Regions from separate parts of the Homo sapiens genome. Here regions 1, 3 and 4 are each linked to region 2. Evidence: promoter capture Hi-C in 16 types of primary human blood cells and fetal thymus (Javierre and others, 2016). All regions are on one chromosome and are shown on one strand. The core of a region is centred on a gene start or on the middle of the fragment in contact, and the rest is flanking DNA. Distances in the headings are between cores, read along the strand shown. Region 1 has its middle 7.7 kb from the start of CCDC177. Region 2 holds the start of SLC10A1 (solute carrier family 10 member 1). Region 3 has its middle 8.4 kb from the start of CCDC177. Region 4 has its middle 58 kb from the start of SNORD169.

The links. The method cuts DNA at HindIII sites, captures the fragments that hold promoters and counts their contacts. A CHiCAGO score of 5 or more calls a contact.
Region 1: a contact is called between a fragment that was not itself captured here and the fragment with the promoter of SLC10A1 in region 2, in 4 of 17 cell types (M2 macrophages, neutrophils, erythroblasts and 1 more). The highest score is 6.3, in M2 macrophages.
Region 3: a fragment that was not itself captured here is called in contact with the fragment with the promoter of SLC10A1 in region 2 in 1 of 17 cell types (neutrophils); the score reaches 6.0 in neutrophils.
Region 4: a contact is called between a fragment that was not itself captured here and the fragment with the promoter of SLC10A1 in region 2, in 1 of 17 cell types (endothelial precursors). The highest score is 6.2, in endothelial precursors.

The regions. Positions count from the first base shown.
Region 1 is chr14:69,580,516-69,584,708 of GRCh38, forward strand. No RefSeq gene overlaps it. Among named protein-coding and RNA genes, the nearest start is that of CCDC177, 7.7 kb to the left of the region's middle. The HindIII fragment of the contact is 4,802 bases long and covers 1-4,193 here.
Region 2 is chr14:69,795,440-69,800,060 of GRCh38, forward strand. SLC10A1 (solute carrier family 10 member 1) reads right to left here and starts at 1,802. Exons shown (of 5, transcript NM_003049.4): 1 at 1,361-1,802. The coding sequence starts at 1,716. The HindIII fragment of the contact is 9,870 bases long and covers 1-2,518 here.
Region 3 is chr14:69,564,082-69,568,826 of GRCh38, forward strand. No RefSeq gene overlaps it. Among named protein-coding and RNA genes, the nearest start is that of CCDC177, 8.4 kb to the right of the region's middle. The HindIII fragment of the contact is 3,704 bases long and covers 441-4,144 here.
Region 4 is chr14:70,033,700-70,038,033 of GRCh38, forward strand. No RefSeq gene overlaps it. Among named protein-coding and RNA genes, the nearest start is that of SNORD169, 58 kb to the left of the region's middle. The HindIII fragment of the contact is 3,722 bases long and covers 1,203-4,334 here.

The DNA of each region.
Region 1 (4,193 bases), core at 759-3,258, 210 kb before region 2:
CAGGCCTGGTGACCACCTTCCAGTGCCTTCCTGAGGTGGACACCAGGTGTTCCAGGCCTCATACCCGTAGTGGCACTCTGGCTCCCTCCCACCAGCCTCAGCTTACCTATAATTTCCTGCTTGCTCAACAGCTGTGGAGTGGCTCTGCCCTGGGCAGACTTCTGTGTCACCCAATGGGCTGTAACAATACCTCCTCTAAGGAGGTCTGAACTCCAATCTTTTTTTTTTTTTTTTGTAGAGACAAGGTCTTGAACTCCTGGCCTCTGGTGATCCTCCTGCCTCAGCCTCCCAAAATGCTGGGATAACTGGCATGAGCCACTGCACCCAGCTCCCCAGTCTTGAGGAGGGAACTCTCCTTCCAAGTTGTCCTTCCTTGAATACTCTCCTTCAGCCTTGGGGAACCGTTAGCTTCATACCTCTTTGTGTTAGGCTTCTCTGTTTAAATTGCTATGTGGTTTCTGTATCTTGATTGGACCCAGAACTATATACAGCTTAATGTGTAACCATTCCCAATTTCTGAGACTAAAGCCTTAAGAAGAAATTTAGGACACAAACCAGCAGGTAAAAGGTAATAGTTGTTAAAAGTAAAGTGTTTTATTTCATACTTTAATGAAGTAATATATGTTCATCAAAAGAGGAAATGAAAAAGTACAGGAAAAGGAAGGAAAAAAAATCACGTGTAGAAAAATCATTGCTGAAAGACCACCACTGTTACATTTTGGTGTGTAGGTGGCAGGGACTTGCAAGCTGCAGGACAGGTTCTTGTCTGTTTCTGCTCTCAATTGCTTAGGGTCCAGTAAGTGGTAGCCCTCCTGCTGGATGCATCGAGAGGAAATGAGATCTAAGTAGTGCTACTTTGCCCACTCTGTGTACCATAAAACTACCTAAAGTACCCTGAGCCATTAAGCTGCTTTGGTGAATCTTCAGAGTTAGGCTTCTTAAGCAGGTGATGCTCATGTTTAAGAACTGTCTCGTGGGACAGGAGAGGCCCAGCCTGCCCTTAACTGTGAAGCTGCGTCACTGCGGAGATGTAGAGGGAGCCTTATGATTAATCCAATGGGCTTTTCTCTCACTCTGTGAAGGGCTGCACCTCATTCCATCCACCAGCCTTTTGTATGATATTGCAGAAGCGTCCTCCTTCCTGAGTATGACCAGGAACCAGGGGTGCTGCCCCATGGGCATCTCCTCTGTGAAATGCTTGTGCTTGAAAGAACAGGCTGGTGCTCAGGAGCCAGGCTTGTTTCCAGTCTCTGCCTCTCCTGCTGGGCCATCTGCCTCTGGCATAAGCCACTTCTCTGCTCAGTCCCTTTAGGCCCCTTCCATTTCAGAGAGGCTACACTGGCATCACAGCCACTGTTCCCACTGGCCTCTCCCCCGTGCCTCTGCCTGCCAACATGCACGCACACACACACACACACACACACACACACACACACACACGCACACACACGCACTGATGTATTTCTTTCTTTTTACATTTTAACTTAATTTTAATTTAATTTTATTTTTTGAGACAGAGTCTTGCTCTATTGCCCAGGCTGGAGTGCAGTGGCACGATCATGGCTCACTATGTCCTTAACCCCCACGGCTCAAGTGATCCTCCCACCTCAGTCTCCCAATAGCTGGGACTAAAGGCATGCACCACCATGCCCACCAATTTTTTAATTTTTTGTAGAGATGAGGTCTCACTATGTTGTCCAGGCTGGTCTCAAACTCTCGGGCTCAAGCAATCCTCCCCTCTTGGCCTCCCAAAGTGTTGGGATTATAGGCATGAGCATTGTGCCTAGCCCCCCCTCCTTTTTCTTCTTAATGGACAATTCTAATTTAGAACATTATGCACCATTGCCTTCCATGATGCCTCAGACCAGTCATCCCAATATATATATTTAGACATTCAGAGATGAGTCATATTCTACTTCTGGGAATATGTGTGATCACTGGCAGAATATGTGTCTCTTGGGGATCAGGAATTTACCTTTGTATGTGTCTCTTGGGGATCAGGAATTTACCATCAGGCTCCTTTTAAATTTAATTTTTACTTTTATTTTGAGATGAGTTCTTGCTATGTTGCCCAGGCTGGCCTCAAACTCCTGGAATCAAGCAATCCTCCCACCTTAGCCTCCCAAGCAGCTGGGATAACAGGAATGAACCACCATGCCCAGCCATCAGGCTCCTTTTTACCCATCCAAATGTGTCAATCAACCACACAACAACAACAAGAAATGCATCAAAAAGTTATTGTTAAGATGCACCAAGCTCAGCTAGGATATCTGCAAATACTGAGAAGGGGAAGACAAGGCCCCTTACCCTGAGTGCCAGTTGGAGCAATAAGACCCAAACACTCAAGAAGTTAAATAATAAGAGTTAAATCCATTATTTTATCTGATAATCAACATAAGAGAGTGGTCACAGGCAGAATGTGATGAATGCATTACTAAGGAGCTAGACAGCGCTAGGTGGGTCCCTCAGCCTTGCTGAGTCTGATTTCCTTTCTTGATTGTATTAGTTTGCTAGGGCTGCTGTAACAAAATGCCCCAGACTAGGTGACTGAAGCAACGAAAATGTATTTTCTCACAGTTCTGGAGGCGAGAAGTCCAAGATGATGATGTCAGCAGCTTGGTTTCTTCTGGGGCCTCTCTCCGTGGCTTGCAGATGGCCACCTTCTCACTATGTCTTCACATTTGTCCCTCTGTTTCCTGTGTCCTAATTTCTTCTTATAAGGATAGTAGTCACATTGGATTAGGGCCCACCCTGATGACTGTACTTTAACTTAGTTACTTTTTATTTTTTAGAGATGGTATTGCTATGTTGATCAGGCTGGTCTCCAACTCCTAGCTGCAAGCCATCCTCCCTTGGCCTCCCAAAGTGCTGGGATTAGAGGCATAAGCCACCACATCCAGCCTTAATTACTTCTTTAAAGGGATGACATGGTTTGGATCTGTGTCCCTGCCCAAATATCATGTCAATTGTAATCCCCAGTGTTGGAGGTGAGGCCTAGTGGGAGGTGATTGGATCATGGGGATGGTCTTTCATGAATGTTTAGCATCATCCTCTTGGTGCTGTTTCTCGTGATAGTGAGTAAATGAGTGATCATGAGAGCTGGTTGTTTAAAAGTGTGTAGTACCTCCCTGCTCCCTCTCTTCTGCCTGCTCCAGCCATGTAAGACGTGCCTACTTCCCCTTTGCCTTCCACCATGATTGTAAGTTTCCTGAGGCCTCCCCAGAAGCCAAGGAGATGCCAGCATCATGCTTCCTGTACAGCCTGTGGAACCATAAATACAAAAAATTAGCTGGGCATAGTGGCAGGTGCCTGTAATCCCAGCTACTCAGGAGGCTGAGGCAGGAAAATTGCTTGAACCCGGGAGGCGGAGGTTGCGGTGAGCCAAGATCGTGCCACTGTACTCCAGCCCGAGTGACAGAGTGAGACTTCGTCTCAAAAAATAAATAAATAAATAAAAATAAATAAATAATCACACATGTGCTGGGAAGCAGAGGGACTGCTGGGAGACCCTCTAATCAGGCAAGAGATGGGCATGGCCTGAACTAAGGCAGCAGCAGTGAGGATAGAGAGCATAGGAAAAAAATGTGAATTTATGAGAGAGAATCAACAAAATTGGTGAGTGATTAGGTGTGGTATCAAAACTCCTGGGTGAGACAGGCACAGTGGCTCATGCCTGTAATCCCAGCACTTTGGGAGGCTGAGGTGGGCGGATCACTTGAGGTCAGGAGTTTGAGAGCAGCCTGGCCAACATGGTGAAACCCTCTCTACTAAAAATATAAAAAATTAGCCGGGTGTGGTGGCGGGTGCCTGTAACCCCACCTACTTGGGAGGCTGAGGCAGGAGAATTGCTTGAACCCTGGAGGTGGAGGTTGTAGTGAGCCAAGATGGTGCCACTGCACTCCAGCCTAGATGACAGAGTGAGACTCTGTCTCAAACATAAGACAAAGACAAAAACAAAAACAAACCTGCCTGGATGTCTGGCTTGGTCAACTGGATAGGTGTGGGGAGGACAGGTTGTGCTGTTCGCTGAGGTGTGAAGTGGAGGAGGAAGAGAAGCAAAGATGATGAGATCCACTTTCAACCTGTTGAATGGCCATATCTATCAGGTGTCTAACCTAATGGTTAATATCATGAGTTTCAGAGTCCACAGACCTGAAGTCAAATCCCAGCTTGTCAGGTCCTGGCTGTGTGAT
Region 2 (4,621 bases), core at 552-3,051:
CTGTTGCCCAGGCTGGAGTGCAGTGGTGTGATCATGACTCACTGTAGCCTTGAACTCGTAGGCTCAAAGATCCTCTCATCTCAGCCTCCCAAGTAGCTGGGACTACAGGCATGTGCCACTATGCCTGGCTAATTAAATATATATGTATATATTTGTAGACACAGGGTTTTGCTATGTTGCCCAGGTTGGTCTTAAACTCCTGGTCTCAAGTGATCTTCCTGCCTTGGCCTCCCAAAGTGCTGGGATTATAGGTGTGAGCCACCGTGCCCAGCCATTCTCACTTTTTTCATTTAAAAAATCTGTCCCAGTGTCATTTTGCATCACTAGGAGGGGCTTCTTGACTGGGTTAGTTTTCCTAGGAAAGTTTGGCTAGGAGTAGGGTGCTGACAGACACAAGCAGATGGACTTTCTGGGTTCTGCTGCTATACCTGGCATTGAATAGCGTCTCCACGGAGGACTAAACCAGGGGGGACTGGCTTGAGACTGAGGTTTCACTGAAAGCAAGAGCTTCTGCTAGTGAGTTTTCTTTAGCTTCAGCACAGGCTGCTGGAGCTGGAGCAGGTCTGAAGTAGCTCCTCTGGCAGATGTTCAAGACTAGAGTCTCCCCAGTTTGGAAGGATGAGCATCAACCAGCCCCTGTGTGCTGCGTCTCCAGGAGCGAGCCCTTGCTGATTTCTGCTTATAATGCTTTGGGCAGGGGGTTAGGGGGTGCTGCTGTCTTCCCCTTATCAGGGTGGCTGAGATGGGGCTGGCCTATCTGGAGTGGGTGCTGGGAAACTCTAGGATCTCCCTGGTTGTGCCTTTGCATGGAAATGTCATTGCATCTGATGGGGAATGAGGGACTTTAAAGAGAAAACATCTTAGATGACCAGGTAATTGGGAGGACCTTTTGGAAATTCTTGCCCGCTTTGCAGGAATTTGAGGTGCTCATTTGGTTCCAAGTCACCTTGATCTCCCTGATGATGTTTGGAACGAATCACACTACCTTTTAAATCTCTGGGCTCAAAGCAGGCAACTTGTCCACTGTTGTAGGTGGATGCAGTTCTCCAGAGGTTCCTTTGGCTTTAATCAGTGCTCCTTTAAGACAATCCTTGAGACACCTCTGGAAGCAAGGAGATCACCACGAGCTTCCTGGACCAGTATGGTCCCTTTGGCTTGGTGCCTAAACCAGACGTACCCCAACTCCTGCCCCCATCCCAGCATAAGCTCTTGGCAATAAATGCCAGACTTCCCCTGCCCTAGCCTCCACCCAGCCTGCATTCACTCCTTTTCCTGGCTTTAGCCCAGCTCTTCCCCTCAATTGTGACATATCTAATGTAGCTCCTGTCCCAGGCTGTTCCCTCCTCACCCCCAGGCCTACCTGAGGTTCATGTCCCCCTTCATGGCCAGACTGAAGACATTGGACAGGTTCCCTCCAGGTGAGCAGCCACAGACCAAGATGGCCAGTGCCTCAATGTTCTTCAGCCGGAAGACCTTGCCCAGCACAAAGGCCGTGAGGGGCATGATGCCATACTGTGCCACCAGGGCGATGGCCAGCCCTTTAGGCTTCCATAAGTGAGCCTTGATCTTGCTGAACTCCATGGTGCAGCCCAGCGAGAGCATGATGAAGAACAACATGAACACCAGGATGACGCTCAGTGCCAGGTCTGTGGGGCGCTTGCCAAAGTTGGGTGGCAGGGTGAAGTTGAATGGGGCAGACGCGTTGTGGGCCTCCATCCTCCTGTGAGGCAGTGGAAGACCACTCCTTGTTCTCCGGCTGACTCCGTTTCTTGTGCAGTTCTTGCTGGATGCCTTCTTTAATCACCTCTCAGGACAGAGAGTTTCTGGACAAAAGCTCTGGGCAAATAGAAGGGTTATGCAACTATCTGAGCTATTTCTCTGGCTGTCGCCCCAAAGAGGAACAGCCCAGAACCTTATCTGCCTGCCCTAGCTCTCCCAAGCTCCCTGACCTCTGCTGGATTCCTGGGTGCTACTTGTACTCCTCCCTTGTCACTTTGCTGCTTCTGGGCTTATTTCTCCCCTTTGCCCTCCACTGAGTGTGCCTCATGGGCATTCATTCAGTTACTGGGGACCTGCCCAGGGCCCACCTGAATCTAGGTCCAGCCCATCTCCTTCCCTGCAGCTCCTTTTCCCAGCTCCGCTCTTGATTCCTTAGTTTCTTGGTTGGGGGAAGGTGCCCTCCCCATGTCCAGTGGGTTATCATTTGTCCCCAGAACCCATGAGAGTGAAAGGAGCTGGGTGTTGCCTTTGGTTCCTAGATACAGGTAGCATAGTCCAAGGGGGTGTGGGACAGGCAATGTCACTGGCCTCCAGGAGGGGATGTGTCCATGACCCTTTTCCTGGGAGCTGAGAGGATGCCAGTATCCTCCCTGCCTGTTCTGGGGAAATGTTTGTTTTATCCCCAAACTGGGACTGTATGAGTCCCAGGGAGGAATACTGGTGGTGGCTGCTCCACACTACCTGGAATGCTTACCATCAGAGGGAATAACCAGCTGGGATGGTGGGTGGGCTCTCAGGAAGCTTGGAGGCTCTTTCCCCGAAAAGCAACCTGAGAGAACCCTGGCTGTGGAGATTGCTTTGTGCCCGAGGAGGCCCATTGCTTGCAAAACTTGCTGAGAAGGAAGCAGGAATGCAGTCTTTTCTTCCTGACTTCCTGATTGCTTTACTTTTGCACTGGGCCTGTGTGTTTCAGGCTGGGAGCCAGGCTTGGGGCGTGGAGCAGAAGCAGAGAGAGGTGGGCATGCCAGGGGCGGGGCCACCTAGTGTGTGAGGTTATCCTAGGCCTTGCTCTTTCCATCTATCCCCACTGCAGAGGTGGGACAAGGGAGGAGGGGTCTCCTTCAGAAACACAATTGCTTCTTGGCTTGGTTGGAACCTAGGAGGCCTGGGTGGGGTCTGAAACAGGTGATTAGGCTTTGTATGTAGGACTCCAGAGGGCAGAATAGGGACCAGGGTGTGAACCACTGTTGGGTGGAGGTGGGGACAGATTTTGGCTTGGTGCAAGGAACCACCTGAAAATGAGAGCTCTCCAAGAATGGCCTTGAGGCCTCTGGAATCCTGCTTGGATAAGGGTTGGATGGCAGGATCCATACATATTGCATCATATCCATGAAAAGGCTGCTCCCTGGGCTTGCGCGGTGGGCAGCCTGCGGGGCCGTATACTGTGGCCCTGGGTGACATGAACTTGAAGCCTCTTTTCCTTTGAGAGTCTCTGCTAATGATTTCCTGGTGCTTGAGTTGGGCTGGTATCAAAGGGAGGGCAGGCAGAGGACTGGGCACTGGATGTGATGCCTGGACTGAGCGTTCCCACAGGGTAGGGTTGAGTCTCAGAGGAGGCTGCTTCCTCTCCCTGGGGCTAATCAGAAGGGAACAGAGTTGCTAGGGGAGAATTATTGATCACTAACTGAGTACCAGGCACCATGGGAGGCAAAAAAAATAAAAATAAATAAATAAAAAAAACTATATAATTCATGTTCCTGTTCTCAGGGACCTGATGGTCTGTACAAGACCACAGATGGCCAGATGGTACACAATGCAATATGGAAGCACGTGAGGGTGGAGGCCATGCAGGGCTGCCAGGTACACCTGTTCAGGTTGGGCACTACACAATGCTAGGGACGCCACTCTACAGATGTCTTGTGCAACCGTACATGAGGCCTTGAAGTCAAAGGGAGACGTTAGGTTTTTACACATTTGCCTGATGCCAAAGGGTGAGGAGGAATTGACCAATATCTGTTAAAGATCAGGGTCTGGGCATGTGTCTATTGTGCACATCCAAAGAGAAGAAGAGTTCCTATGAACACATTTGTAACCTGGATTCTAAACCACGTAGTCTCTATCAACTCTTCCTCCTCACCTCTTCTCAGGAACCCAAAATCCTTCCACCTCCTACTGTGAGTTTTTCCCTTTGAGAAAACAGTTTCTTGCCCTGGCTGCCCCTCCTCCCACTCCTTCCCATTCCCTCTGTTCCTAGCAATGTGACTTTGCAGAGAATGGAAAAATCTCTTCCAGGAACCTGACACCCTCCATTCTTTTCCCCATATCCCCTCAGAATCTACTCTAATTTAATACAATTTTGGAAACAGGAAGATCTTTTTGTGTTATGTTAATGATACCTGAGAGTTGTTGAGCACATGCTGTGTGATGGATGCTGTGATTTAAATTACATTTCTTTTTAACTTTTATTTTAGATTTAGGGGTACATGTACAGGTTTGTTGTTACAGACAAACTTGTGTTATGGGGGTTTGGTGCACGGACCACTTTGTCACCCAGGTACTAAACATAGTACCTGATAGTTCTGATAGTTATTTTTCCTGATTCTCTCCCTTCTTCCACCCTCCTCCCTCAAGTAGGCCCCAGTGTCTGTTGTTCCCTTCTTCGTGCCCATTAGTTCTCATTATTTAACTCCCACTTATCAGTGGGAACATGCAGTATTTGGTTTTCTGTTCCTGCATTAGTTTGCTAAGAATATTGGCCTCCAGCTCCATCTGTGTTCCTGCAGAGAACATGATCTCATTCTTTTTTACGGCTGTATAGATTCCATGATGTATATGTACCACATTTTCTTTATCCAGCCTACTGTTGATGGGCATTTAGGTTGATTCTATGTCTTTGCTATTG
Region 3 (4,745 bases), core at 1,043-3,542, 230 kb before region 2:
TTAAAAGCATGTGCTGTACAGCCAGACTAAGGGAATCCAAGCTGACTTTGCTCAACACTGGCTGTGTGACTATGGGCATATAATTGCTTAAAGTTTATGCCTCAATTTTATCATCTGTAAAATGGAAACAATAACAGTACCTACCGCACAGAGAATCTTGTGAGAATCAAGTGCTTAAAATAGTAGCCTGCACAGTGTAAGTGCTTAGTACACACTGGCTATCATTACCCCTGCAATCCCAGCATTAGCAAATTGTTCCTTTCTGCTATGCATTTGCTCACCCTGCAGGTTCTCTGGAAATAAGCAGATGTTCCTAGGAAGCACACTCTGCCTACTGTACAATTTTGCTGAGGATTCAGGAGTACTCTGAGGTCCACTAGGGCATCCCTCTAGGTTATCCAAGGATGGAAGAAAGCTGATGAGGTAGGAGAGTGCCTAGAAGCTTGCCATACTCTTCATCCTCACTTCCCCATGCACAGTGAGAGCCAGGATGGGCCAGCCTACCTGTTTAGCACCTCTGTGTATTGATGTATGTCCAAAGAGGAGAACAGACATTTACAAACCCAGGCCTGAAGCTAGGCTCCATGCAGTTGTCAACAGGGCCAGAGGACCAGGAAGGGAGAGTGGGGACATTTGGTGAGGCTTCTCAAGGAAAGTCATTAGTTGAGGATGAAGTGATGCTAAGGCATATCCACCTCTATCCTTCCTGCTCCAACACTACCCCTACAGTGAGCCCATCAGCACTCTCCCAGGTTAGGCTTGTCCCAGACCCTCTTCCTTATTCCTGTGTGGCCATAGCAGAAGATGGCTGTATAGTCCAGAATTCCTGCCAAGTACCACCACACCCTGTAGTACCAGAGTCCCCCTGAACAGTGGTTCTCCCACAACCTCTCCTACTTGGTCCTGCTGAAGATGCTATCATAGAATTTGGGCATCACCAGGACAGAAGCACACCCTCTTTTGCCCTAGAAAGATACACAAATTTTAAAGCATTCTGTCATTTTACCCATCATTTAAGAAGTCTTAAAATAAAATTTCCAAAATTATTATCAGATGTCAATTTTATTGCCAAACAAGGTAAATGGGTAAACAAGTAAATCCCTACCTCCCCCAGCCCCCACAACCCCAGGACTACTGCTTATTACCAGGGGAACCATTTTTCCAGAGCCCCTCATTTGGAATGGTTGGAAGATTGCCACGCAACAAGGACTACCCCCAAAAGGGCTACCATTCAAGTCTGGTGTCCACCAGGACCACCTGGCTTAAGCTCGATCTACCCCATTCCTTCCTTTACCATCTTCTCTAATTTAGGATAACAGTATCCACAAATTAAGTGCTACTGCTTTCCAAGAACTAAATGATTTAACAGCTCCCTACCAGATAGGATCTATTGTCTCCATTTCACAGAAGACAAGAGGAACAAGTTGAGAATAGCTTGAATAAGTCAAGACACTTGCTCCTTTGCCAAACTCTTTGCCTTAAGTTGTGATAACCACAGGGAATAGATTTTCAGAATTTGATGGACGTCAGTCATTTTGTTATACTATGTTCCCGAATGCTGGCATTTTGGTATCTAAATTCTATCTCCCAGTAAATCTCTGACACCCAGTGAGAGAATGCACTGGGAAGGAGAAGTGTAGTGGCAGCATGAAAACCCTTCGTCAACATGAGGCTCGATGATGGATTTGGGAGATGCAGACACCATGCTCACAAGCCACAGCCTAAAGCAGCCTTGGGGCTGGAGGCAGGTGGGAGCAATGGAACCTTACAAGGGGCAGCTCAGCCTTCCCAGAACTTAGCTCTCCTTGGAAGAATAAGATGGCTATAGTTCCTCCCTTTGCAAGAACACTGATGCTGGAAGCAGTAAGGGTGGGCGTGCGCATGTGTATGTGCATGCACGCTTGCACATGTGTGCTCAAACACAGAAGATATGGATCATTCACAAGAAAGTCCTGTGAACTGTGTAAGTGTCTGACACAAAAATATGCTATCAGTACTGTACTAATGGAGGGCTGGGTGCCATGGCTCATAGTCCCAGCACTATGGGAGGCTGTGGTGGGTGGATAACTTGAGGCCAGGAGTTTGAGCCCAGCCTGGCCAACATGGTGAAACCCCATCTCTACTAAAAATACAAATTTAGCCAGGTGTGGTGGCATGCACCTGTAATCCCAGCTACTTGAGAGGCTGAGGCATGAGAATTGCTTGAATCCAGGAGGCGGAAGTTGCAATGAGCCGAGATGGTGCCGCTGCACTTCAGCCTGGGCGACAGAGCAAGACTGTCTCAAAACCAAACCAAAACAAACAAACAAAAAATTGTACTAGTGGAGAGGAAGAAAGGCAAGAACACTTCAAAATGACAGCTAATTTAAAAATCACTTTGGACTAGGTTTTTATGCTCATTTGAGACATGACTGTATTTGATGAATTGGGAAGTAATAACACTGCAAATGATCACATTATCAGCGTTTCTCTGAAAGAAACCATCCCACATTCCATATCCTAACATCTGCTACAGTAAAAAGATAGACAGATAGAGGAAGAGAGACAGAGACAGAGGGAGACAGAGCGAGAGAGATGAATCACCTTCAAGGGTATTGCCTGTCATGACTTTAAGAGAGGCAGCATTGAAAACGGCAAGAACTCTACCCTCTGTCCCAGCCCTGACCTATTGGAAACCAAAGCAGCACCAGGGATAGTAGTGAAGGGCTGGGGGCTTGTTGGGAAGATCCATGGGGTTGGGAGGAGATGCATGTAGAGAGAGATGCCAGGGAGCTCTGTGTAACAGAGCACATATGAACTGATGAACTGCTCTTGTCTAAAGACACACATAACCAAAGCATATGATGAGGTGTAATATTCAGGTGCTATGCCAGACACCTGAGGCCTCAGCAACATTTCCAGAACTGAGAGTTTTCTGCTTCTGGGTCCCTGAAAGCCCCTTTGCAGGCTGTGTGAAGAAATACCAAGTTTCCTCATGTTCCTCTGCCAAATGTTTCACTGGATGAAGATGTGGTCATACAGCAGAGAAAAGGCAAGCCTACATAGCAATCTTTGGGCTCAATTACCTGGAAGGCTTAAGAAGTGAGATATTCTGGTTTACTAAATCTCTTTATGGATTCAGTATTAACCAGAAATTTCTTTTTGTTGAGACTTTTAAACTGGAAATGGTCCTGCAATTTTGACTTTCTTGTCTCAGTAAGAACAGTCAGATGAGGAGCTGGCACCAAATGACGTTTGGTGAATTAGGACTCTGCACAGCCTGAGGGTCGGTTCTCTAGGTCGAAGATCATTATTTATGCTGCCTCTCTTAAAGGCATGACAGGTAATGCCCTTGAAGGTGATTCATCTCTCTCTCTCAGTTTATCTCTTTGTTTACTGAAATTTAAAGCTGATTAAGGGCATAGCATGAATTTGACCTGATTAATCAAGGCTTCTCCAAGAAAGAGAGCAACAGTGACTAAATGATGATTGAATGGTGGATGACTTGTCCTTAGGAGGCTGACAGTGTTTGAAGTTAGTGCCTTGAGGGACCATCAGGTCTGCCTGCAGATGGATACTCAGGTGAGAAGGTTGTTAAGCCCCCAACATGGAAACAAAGATGTCGTCTGCTCATGACATTGTACATACGTGATCTCCAGGGTCAATGATTGGAGAGGCTGTTTCTCCAGCACCAAGGGCAGTGCCTGACACATAGCAGCGGCTCACTGAAAATGTGTTGAATGAATGGAGTCCTGCCTAGCTGGTCTATACACATTTCCTCTGGTCACCATTCATTTGTCCATCCATCCCTCTGTCCTTCTCGCCATCCAGTATCTACGTGCTTACCATATGTGAGATGTAAAACCATTGGCTGTAGGGGATTCTATGCTAAACAAGATACAGCCCTTTATTTAGAGTCACCTCTATTTCAATGGACTTTGTAAAGGTGAAGAAATGATAAGTGATGGATTTTACAGAATAGTCTGAACACAGACTGCATTCTCATATATCTTCACTATCCTACAGGGTCTTTGCCTTTAGCAAATCCCGGTTACTACCCTCATTGGAGAGTCACAGTCTGCATGCTTCCAAAAAGAATCTTCCACCATCCTGTCTAGATAGGGTTGTAGGCATTGGGTCACTGCCTGAGCAGGACACTAAACTAAGCTTCACTGATGATTTAATCTGAAATCGTTTTGTCCTTCTTGCTTCCATGGTAATGAACTAAACCTAAGCTTCTTCCAATGCCTCCCATACCTCCTCACTTCATTTCACAGTCTCTGTTTTGTAGAACAAGGGGATGCTCCAAGAGGACAAATGTGAAGGTCTGTGGTCACTTCAAGGCTGCAATCCCCTGGGTGGTAAGAACACATCCACCATGGTGCTCTAAAGAAAATTCTGGGCACTTGTTAGAATATCATTTAGGGACAATTCCACCCAAAAGAATATACATCAGGAGCCATTTTTCCACCCACTATCCTTGTTCCACCTCCAACATTCTCTTGCTGCATTTCAGAATAGGAAACAACCTCTTCTCTCTGGCATTGCTTCAAGAAAAGGATATAAACAAGGGGCCCGACAACGATTCTGGAAATTGCTTCTCCTCAGAAAGCAATATGGATATTTATCCTAGAATATGGAGGTCGGCCTATACTCTAGCAGATGGTCTGCAACATTCTTTATTGTCACTAGGTTTGGCTTCTGTTTTTGCTTTTTTTTTTTTTCAGGGTTTCACTATGTTGCCCGGGCTGGTCTTGATCTCCTGG
Region 4 (4,334 bases), core at 1,814-4,313, 240 kb after region 2:
CCTTGGCTCCAGCAGAGATACCCAGCCTGGCGTGGAAGGGGCAGGTCTGAGCTTACGCTTGACTGCAGGGCAAGCTGCAGGCCTCTTCTGCCTTCCCCTGCATTCACCAAGGACAGTAGGACCAAGAGTCAAGGAAAAGTGCAAGATAGATCTATCCCATTTCTTCCTCCACCTGGAGATTCCTGAGCTATGCTCAGCCTCTGTGGGGCAGGGAAGACTGGGGACATTTTTAGTCAGGATGCTGAGAAGTAATTCCTGCTGGGGCCAGGCATCTTTTCAGGGCTGCTGTGATGCCAACAAAGAAGGGGCCCCAGGCCCATCCTTACTCCTGGTCCCCAAAAGGATCCAAGTGGGATGGGAAGCTGGCAGCACCAACCCACTTGTAGATTAACAACAACAACAAAACACCAACAAATAAAAAAAAGCAAAACAACAACAACAAAACAAAACAAAAACCAAAAACTAAAAAACCAAACCAAAACCAAAAAGCCCTGGATCACCAGGCTGTTCATCTGGCTATTTACTCCCAAGTTCCTGAAAGACCTGCAAGGCCACAGTTGTGCCCACCAAGGAGGCTGAAGACCTTCCCAGGCACCATGACCTTCTGGTCTGTGGTGTTAGGCCTTTTTCTACTACACAGGTGGAAATAGGTGAAGCTTGATCTTTTCATGCAGCACTGCCGAATCAAGCTCTCAACCCTAGGGCCTGGATCAACATTCCCCTTTGTGTGCCTTTCATGAGTTGATAAGGAAAAGGGCCATGACCTTGGTTCCATGCCTGCCTACTCCTGCAAGTGTCTGTGCTATGTATGGGGCACAAGTCTCTCTTGTCATTTCTCGTCAAGTCTTGGTGGGGCACTCTGGCCAATTCCTTCTATTCCTCTACGCCACCCCCAACCAACACCTCACCCAAGCAGCCCCTGCTCCCTCTCCTGCTCTGCACTGCCCCTTTTTCCTCTGTCAGGATGCACTCTGTGAAAGCTGTCTTGCCTGTATCCTCCTAGCCAGAGCGCTAACTCTAGCTACTGGTCGGTGGTCCTGTATGTAGTACCCCAGACCAGGCCTGTCTACAAGTCCAGGGCAACCCTGAGAATTCACACACTTGATGGTCACATGCACTGCATACTTGGATGTGGTCTCTCCACACAGTGATGGACACGTTGCTCAACTGCTCATAAGACTCAGTCAGGAGAGACCAGGATAAGCTTCAGTAAGTACACCCTTCCCAACCTCTCTGGCTCAAAACAGAAAGGTGTTTTTCTCACTGCTGCGACACAGCAGTGAGATAACAAGAGTAATGTACTCAGCACAGTGCCTGGTACAAAACTGGAGCTCAGTATCTGTCAGTCATCCTCCTCTTCCTCCTTATTTGTATCATCAGTGAGCGTTGGCACTGGGAGGAGCCTGAAAAATCACCTATTCTAATGGTTATACGTGAAAAATCTAAAATCTCAATAGATAGGCGGAGTGGCCATCTCCAGGTCAAATACTTTTAGCTTGTGACACAGCCAGAATTAGAATTCACTTCTGTCAACTCCTAATTTAGCATTCTTAATAGCAATTACTTTGCTATACATTTAAAGAGGCATACAGCATATATAGATGGAAAATTCCATTAAATGATGGAAAGAAGTGTGTCTACTGAGATGTTGAGTAGTTCACTGTATCAGATTCTAAAAAATGAGTTGTTTAGGGAAAGGTATAGTGAAATATACCTGACAAGGCAGTGAAATGAGGTAGAGATAGAGTGATGGGATGCACATGCCATTGCAAAAAGCATTATGATGCGGGCTGTATGATGGAGTTGTAACTTCTGGAGGAAAGCTAAAAATGGAGGAACAGATTAATATCAGCAGCAAAATCACATGGTCTGGCAGGAAAGTCAGGGCCAGTGGACAGAGAACCTACTACAGGAGTCTTCAGCCTGGTTTTGCTATGAACTAGCTGTGTGACCTTGAGCCATTGGCTTCACCTCTCTGGGCCTCCTTGGTGTTTTTGCCCAGGAGTTCTCACTGTATGTCAGACATTTTGCTAAGCCTGTTATCTCATGAAATAATTGCAACAACTCTATATGGTGTGCAGAAATCTCCTGCCTACCCCATCTGGAGCCATTCTTCCCCCTTCTTCACCTGCTGCGTGCTCTGCCTGGGGGACTAACTTTTATGCATGGCATCAATGGAGTTCTTGTGCTCTCTGGATGACCAGGAGTCCAGTGGGAGATGGGAGAGTGGGAGGGGAGGGAGGACAGGTGTTATTCTCTGTAAGGTTGCCTTGGGCTGGCTTTGTTTTTTGACTGAAAGGTATCACTCCTCTCTAAGAGGCCTATCTACCTGATTCTCTCTCCTTCTCAGTTCCTGAAACCTCTCCTCTCCTTCCACTTGGGCCTAGGAGGAAGCAAACTCATAAAGTGGAACTCTGGGTTTGGGCTGGTCATGAGCAGCTCAAGGACAACTTCCTTGATGAGGGCAAATGGGACCCAGGTAGTTCATGGTAAAGGGTGGCATCATCAATACTCAAATTATCACTGAATGGGGTAGAGAATAAAGTGGAGGGCAAGATGCTGGGGGATCAAGTGGTTCTAATGCTTTGTTCCTAGAGCAATTGCAGTATTTTCAAAAATTATGACATCACCTGATTATTTGCATGACTCTTGAGAACATACATGGGGGAAAAGACAAATTAAAAGCTATTAACATGCACAGGGAGAACTGGAAGTCCTCCCAGGAAACTTTAAAGGAGTCCCTCCTCTCCTATAGCTGCAGGGACCACAGGGATATGGACCAAGCCCAAGTTGCAGCATTAATTAAATGCTGGACCCCATTAGGACTCTTCAGGACATGAGTAGGGAAGGAGTAACACCAAATAACATATGACTTAACCTACCCATGTAGAACTGGGTACCTTTCCCAATAAATTATAAAATTGAACTTGCTCAGAAATATTTATTATAAAATGGAAGTGGTATGTATATAGGGAAAACAGCCCATTCATGTCAAGAAAGCACCAGTAACCTGCACAAACAGGCAGTTTTGACTCCTGTGGTAACTCCAGGTAACAGCTTTGCTGCCTTTCCCTCAACCACACATTGACTTCATGGGGAATTCCCTGTGACCAGTGAATAAATGAGAAAAAAGCATGAACCTAATTCTGCACAGCATGCCAGCACCAGCCAGAAGTGGACAGCGCCATCTATAGCCCTACTCACAGGAGACCCTCAAAGACTGTGGTGGATGGAAATTTTCCCAGTGGACAGAACTTCAGGCAGTACATTGAACTGTCCACTTGGGCCTGAATCATGGATCTACACCAACTCATGCAGTGGATGATGAGTGACTGGCTCATTGAGGACTTGAAGCTAATTGGTGGCAAGAAAAATTAGGAATTTAGGAATTCCATGTATGGAATGGGCCCCATAGTGTGAAGATATAGTGCCCCATACAAATGCCTATCAGAGAGCAACCATGGTGGTAGATGTTCTCAATATGACTCATGCTGTCGTTAATATTAGTTGGCCCCTCTCCCTAGCCACCCTGATGCTGGCTCAGTGGATCCATGAACAAAATGGCATGCCAACAGGGATGGAGGCTGTACTTGGACTCAACAGCCTGGCTGTCCTCTCACCAAGGCCCATTTGGCTACTGCCACTGATGAGTGTATGACCTGCTCAAAGCAGAAGCAACGGATGAGCCATTGACATGGTAATATCTCCCAGGAAGGCCAGCAGGTTATACAGTGTCAGATTGATTTCCTTGGACAATTGCCATTATAGAAAATGTAGCAGTCAGTCTCTTCACAGAGGATAGACTCATATTCTGGGTATGAATTTGCCTTTCTTGCCCATAGTGTTTCTGCTAGCATGTCCATTTATGGACTTTGAATGTTTTATCCATTGCAGTGATATCTTTCACAACATTGTCTTACCAGGGTCACTGGTCTTACCACTTTTCCTATTACCCAAAAGTGGAATGACCTGATTCAGGCTCAATTACAGCATCACGTAGAAGATAATACCTTGTGATATTAAGATGCTATCATACTGAATGCAGTATATGCTGTAATTGGGGGCCAATATCTAGTGCAATCTATCCATAGATGGGATCATAGTTCTGGAGACTAAGGGGTAGAGATGGGTGATGCCTCTCATTATTATGCCTAATAACCTACATGAAGAATCTTACTTTCTGTTTCTATAGCTTTGGTCTCAGCAGGTTTGGAAGTCCCAGTGACAATGGAGAAATGCTTGCACCAAGGAAGAGTTCTGGTTCTGATGAATTAGAAGTAGATACTGCCTCCTAGTCATTTTGGGTTCATTGAACTGGTGAGACGAATGTCCTA